Linked DNA regions of Homo sapiens: region 1 is linked to region 2. The links are contacts of gene promoters, found by promoter capture Hi-C in human tissues and cell types (Jung and others, 2019). All regions are on one chromosome and are shown on one strand. The core of a region is centred on a gene start or on the middle of the fragment in contact, and the rest is flanking DNA. Distances in the headings are between cores, read along the strand shown.

Region 1 (3,001 bases), core at 379-2,878, 86 kb after region 2:
GGGAGCAAGAGTGTGGGGCAAGGTATAGCAGAATCCTTTAGCTGAGGGCCTTGTAAATCACACCATATAAGCAATGACTTTCATTGACTATGTGCAAGGCCACCCTTAGGTCTGATTAGTTGAATACATTGATCACAGCATGGAAAGGTTATCCACCTTTAGAACTGCTGGGAAGAAAGTGAGGAGCAGGATCAAGAACAGATGCTTTATCTCCCATTAGGTTGCACAAACCTGGAAAATCTAGAAATCTGCTGCCACTCCCAGCCCCTCAGACAGCTAACAGGAACCAGTGACAGACTACCCAGAATAAAAACTCCAAGGGGCATCTGAAGTTGAAGGTTATAGATGTCAGCTGATGTGGCCTCTTGGGAAAGCTAGTGCTCTATTTCAATAGGATTATGAGGTTTAATTGACTAGTGCTGCTAAAGTGTGTACCATCCAGTCACAGAGTTTGTAGTCTTAGCTTCATAGATTTGAGTTAATTTCCTCCCAAGGGAGGCATTTGCAATTTTCTTAAGTGATAGATTTCACCTAATACCCACAGTGGTTAAAATCTTGATAGTTAAAAAGTAAAAGTTAATGGGTTTCAAACAAGCTGTTCCCAATATCTACACAATTTGTTCTCTTTTTTATGAATATTCCCAGGTTGAGGGTGAATTGGATGAAATAGAAGAAATGCAAATCTCTTCTTCAGATTGGGTTTCTGAGACAACATCAAGTGCCAAGCAAGGGAAATTTCCATTTTCATTAAAAACAAATTTCCATTTTATTGAAAAATACTATCATTTTTGAACTGTAAGGATTAACAGTACCGAATTAAAATTCTACCACTTATTAACTATGCAAATTCGAATAAGTTACTTAATTTCCCTAAGTCTCAGTTTCCTCACCTGTAAAATAGTGGTAACAATAACTGTGACTATTAAATGAGATAATGCAAAATATAAGACTTGACACTTGCTTGGCAGATATATTACACCTATTTATTGCTATTATTACTAAATGTTTTGAGAATTGGTTTATCCTCTAATTAAGTAACTATGGATGTGGGTATTTAATTTATAGAACTAAACTTGAACTCGAAAGCTTGAGCAAAGCAAACATTTTAAATGGTTTTTCAAATTATTTTTCTATTACTTCTCTGTGTCAAATCTGAGTCTAATTTACCTGAAAGATGACACTCAAAACTGAGGTGATTATTGTACTGACAACTCCAATTATCCAGTCTTTTAAGGATCCTAATACGCATATATTATTCACTATAATCTTTTAATTTTTCAATGCTATCAGTTGGGTAAAGCATAGCTTGTTTGAGAAGATATTTCTTCATCTATATTTACAGAAAGAAAGGGCACATGCTACCGTGCTGTTTTATTGAGTAAAATAACCCATGGAAAAATCCTAATCTTACTGCTAGGATACTCTTAAAAAACAACAATCTACTTGAATTCAACTCTAAGCAGTATGTGCAAGGCACTAGGATACAATAATTAGTCATTAAGAAACAAGAGAAGCAGCTGCATTTCCTGTACAGTTTGTCTGTACCAGAAGCTGGAGAGCCTGAGAGAAATCTGTTTTAACAATTAAGAGAGATTTCTTAATCTCTATACGAACTATTAAGTAAGAAGAGTGAATACATGAATATATACTGAGAACACACCACCATAAAAAAAATCCGAATCTACATGTAAGGCTACACGTAAGAGTTTTAAAGCCACAAAACGTGGGTCGTCTTTGTGTGTTTAATCTTAAAGTTGTGTTAAGTTCTACTTTTGACCACACTTAACCAGGACTGAGCCATCCTCTGCCACAAACATCAGAAAATGCAGACCAATATGCTCCCCAGCAACAGAGTAAATTCAAAATATCTGTTGGTAGGAGAGGCAAGTTGTGCTTATCCTTTGGGCCATTGAGCAAATTTGGAATCATAGAAACTGTTTTTTTCTTACAAATACTTAGACTAGGAAATTAAAACAACAAACAGCACTTAAAATGGTAGCATTGTGCATATGAGACTTTGAGTATTATAATGAAAATCATTTTTATTTTTTATTTTTTTAAAGTTATGAATTGCTTATTTCTGGAATTTTCCATTTAATATTTTTGGACTGTGGTTGAAATCACAGAAAATGAAACCCTGGATAAAAAGGGGATTACTTGTGTTTCTTTTTAAAAAAACAACTTTTATTTTAGGTTCAGAGGTACATGTGCAGGTTTGTAATATAGGTAAACTCATGTCATGGGGGGTTGCTATACAGATTATTTCATCATCCAGGAGCTAAGCCTAGTACCCAATAGTTATTTTTTCTGATCCTTTCCTCCCTACCACCTTGCACCCTCAGGTAGGTCCCAGTGTCTGTTGTTCTCTATGTGTCCATGTGTTTTCATCATTTAGCTCCCACTTATAAGTGAGAAGATGTGGTATTTGGTTTACTGATCCTGCATTAGTTTGCCGAGGATAATGGGCTCCAGCTCCATCCATGTTCCTGCAAAAGACATAATTTCCTTATTTATGGCCACATAGTATTCCATGGTGTATATGTACCACATTTTCTTTATCCAGTCCACCTTTGATGGGCATTTAGGTTGATTCCATGTCTTTACTATTGTGAATAGTATTGTGAATGGTGCTGCAATGAACATTTGCATGCACGTGTCTTTATGGTAGACTGATTTCTATTCCTTGAGTATACACCCAGTAATAGGATTGCTGGGTCAAATGGTAGTACTATTTTTAGCTCTTTGAGGAATCATCACACTGCTTTCCACAATGGCTGAACTAATTTACACTCCCACCAATAGTGTATAAGTTTTCCCTTTCCACCACAACCTCTCCAGCATCTGTTATTTTTTGACTTTTTAACAATAGCCATTCTGGGCTGAGCGCAGTGGCTCATGCCTGTAATCCCAGCACTTTGGGAGGCTGAGGCGGGTGGATCATGAGATCAGGAGATCAAGACCATCCTGGCTAACACGGTGAAACCCCACCTCTACTAAAAAT
Region 2 (3,020 bases), core at 477-2,976:
TGGATATGAAAGAATATTGCATACACATATACCCTCTCCCTTATTTTTAAGGAATCAATATCTGCTTAAAGAATAAGACTAGTTAAAACCCTTGGATCTTGGCCCTATAACTTTTGGCAGAGTATATTACTGCTTCATGGCCTGGCAGTGCAGTGACTCTTTTAATTTACTTTAAAATAGCTTTTCCCTAATCTGTACAACCTAACATCTGACCAATCATGAATCTTCAGCAAACTTAAGCCTCTTATTCCATACATTTTTTAAAACTGTAAAAATTCAGGAAATAACTCTTTGCAAAGTACATTGAAGCATTTATTGGGAAGCAAAAAAGCACAAGTTGAAGTGATTTGTAGTTTCATAAAAACGAATTTGACATTTTACTTAGAAGTTGCAAACCACCACATGGTTTTGAGTTTTGAATTCATTTGCTTTGCAAAAAGTGGAATGTTTTATTTGAATGGAAATGCCCTCAAGTTACTTCCAGCATGGCTGTAGGATTGATTTTTCTAGGTTAAGGGAATGCCAAAGTTTAGTGCCTTGTGTATATTCTTTTCGAAAAAAACAAACTATTATCCATGTATTTAAATGGACGTAGGAAATTCAAGAACAAATCAGGGAAATTTAACATCATTTCAGTATTACCAACATAGGGCTTTGTGTAACGACTGTGACATCAAGATAAGGCTTTACCTCGGCTCATCCAATAGAAATACAGTATGTAAATTAACCCATATTATCTGTATGCTGATTGGCCTGAGTTCCCCTGAATGTCACAATCTCACCACCCAGCAATGAGGTATTTTACTGCTGTCTCAAGATCAGATTATTACTGTAGAGAAGATTTTTATTTTTTGTTTCATTAACAGATTATTATAAAGCAAAAAGCATGCAGAAAAAGAAGCAGACGTTTTACATTGGGAATTAATGAAAGCGTGTCTGCTAGTTTTGGGTAGGAGAACTGGGAAGTTGTTGCTTAAAATTTTATATCACCTCCACAAACAAAACTCTTCGGAAATGGTAAAATAAGAAAATGCATGATTCTAGAGGCATTCCTAAGCACCCACGTGTCAGGCTTTGTGGTGTCTGTGGTATCATCCGACCGTTTGGACTGGTGTAAGTTTTACGTATTTGTTATATTTCTAGTATTTTTCATCTGTAATAACAAAGGGGAAAAAAGGAAACTCGTACACATAACTGCTTTGACATCACCCATCATTGGTCAGCGGAACTTGTAAGAAGGGAAAAGGAATACTGTTGCTTGGTGGGGTGGAATGCCAGGAATAGCCATTTAAACATTTTATAAGCCTGATTCTTTAGTGACATCCTTTAAGGTAGACTGAATGTAAATCATATTGTAGTTGTCCTCTGAACTTAGCTTTCTCCCTACTTTTACGCATATTTGCGTGCATTGGAGAATAGAAGATGACTAACAAAGAGAGAGCTGCCCTAACGTGCCTTCCCTTCTTCCCCATTGAAAAGATTTTTAACTGTGGGAAAAAGATAAATAAATAAATAAATAACTTTTTTTCTTTTTTCCCATTCTTTTCTTGTCTTTTTCCAGCTAACCTGCAAATTTAAAGGTTAGCTGGAGACATCACTTAAAAATAAATATATAAAAGAAGCCTCCGGTGGTTTGGACCACCCTAAAAGAAAAGGGAAGAAAGTGTCTGGGGAAGGTTAGGGTTCCGGGAAGCTGAGGGAGGGGGCGGGCGTCACGGGCACTGTGACTTCCTCGTGCGCTGCCTTTGGGAAGAGGATGGGCCTGAGGTCCTGAAAGGGCCTTTCCAGCCCCCCACTACAAATGCGGGGAGGGAAAAGTTCAGAAGCAGCCACGAAGGGACAAAAGCTTAATGCTGCCAGTTGGATTGGACAGGGCAGTCAATAAACCCAGCCAGCTCTGGAGTCAGGTAGGGGTTCCTGCTGGTTCCACAGAGGCTGAAGCAGCCCCGCCGCCGCCCTCGCCACCGCAGCCGCCGCCGCCGCGGCCCCTGCGTTACTGGGGGAGACGGTGCCGCTGCGACAGGGGAGGACGCGGCTGGAGCTCAAGGAGGCTCCAGCGCGCAGGCGCCGCCGAGCCCTGCCTGGATGCTCAGTCAAGGCACTAAGGCAAAAAAAAAAAAAAAAAAAACAAAAAACAAAAAAAAAAAAAAAAAAAAGAAAAAGAAAAAAAGAAAAAAATCAGCAATTTATAGAAAGAAGCTATAGTCTGTCGGGATATCCAACACCAACAGGTAGGAGGATATACTCTTGGTTAAGTTTGGGGGATGTGGGGGAATGCACAGTGTTGATGAAACTGCAGGTTCACCGAGAAAGAGCCCTCCCTCAGGTTGTGTGTGTGTGTGTGTGTGTGTGTGTCTCTGTGTGTGTGTGTGTGTGTGTGTGTGTATGTGTTTTGTGACAATAAACTGCATAATGGAAGTACATTCAGACAATGCATCTTCAGTAGGGCTTACTGAGAGCTCCATTTCTGGAAAGCCTTACAAGACTGAGGAATATCAGACTGCGAATCACCGGGAACGGTTCCTTTGCAGCACAGAAGCAATCTCTCTCCCCATCTTCGCGTATGTAATGCATGTCTCTCTCCCTCTCCCCCTCCTCCACCCTCCCCCCATTATAAATCCAGGGGTGGCGGATTTCAGGTTTCGTAATGTTGCATGATGCGATCGGTATTTACCCGAGGATGTACCGGTGGGGAAATTAAAATCATCGAACGCAGTTTTGCCTGGGCTTCCACCAGCATATTCCGGGCCAGTGAGAAGTGGCAAAAGAAACACGCTTGGTGGGAATAACAGAGGAAGCCGATTTCCCTGGTGTGGTCCAGGCACCTGCGAGACAATGTGCATTTTGTTTTAAAAAGCAGCCACTTGTGATTTGCAACAAAGGTTATCAGTGTAAATGGGAAAGGCTTAATTGCCCAAGAAATACAGGTTCATGTTATATTCATTTGAATCCAGGCAGCCAAGGTTTACAAATGGAAGTGCATTATTCCTCTGGGTGTGTTTCCCTGTCCAATATTTACA

What was found. Contacts are between HindIII fragments. The study calls those that stand out against the background at their distance.
Region 1: a contact is called between a fragment that was not itself captured here and the fragment with the promoter of GPR85 in region 2, in 2 of the 25 tissues and cell types used here (IMR-90 fibroblasts and spleen).

Annotation. Positions count from the first base shown.
Region 1 is chr7:112,999,325-113,002,325 of GRCh38, reverse strand. No RefSeq gene overlaps it. Among named protein-coding and RNA genes, the nearest start is that of HRAT17, 5.2 kb to the right of the region's middle. The HindIII fragment of the contact is 7,892 bases long and covers 1-3,001 here.
Region 2 is chr7:113,085,533-113,088,552 of GRCh38, reverse strand. GPR85 (G protein-coupled receptor 85) reads left to right here and starts at 1,726. Exons shown (of 3, transcript NM_001146267.2): 1 at 1,726-2,231; 2 at 2,444-2,561. RefSeq lists a silencer at 1,981-2,040. The HindIII fragment of the contact is 9,773 bases long and covers 1-3,020 here.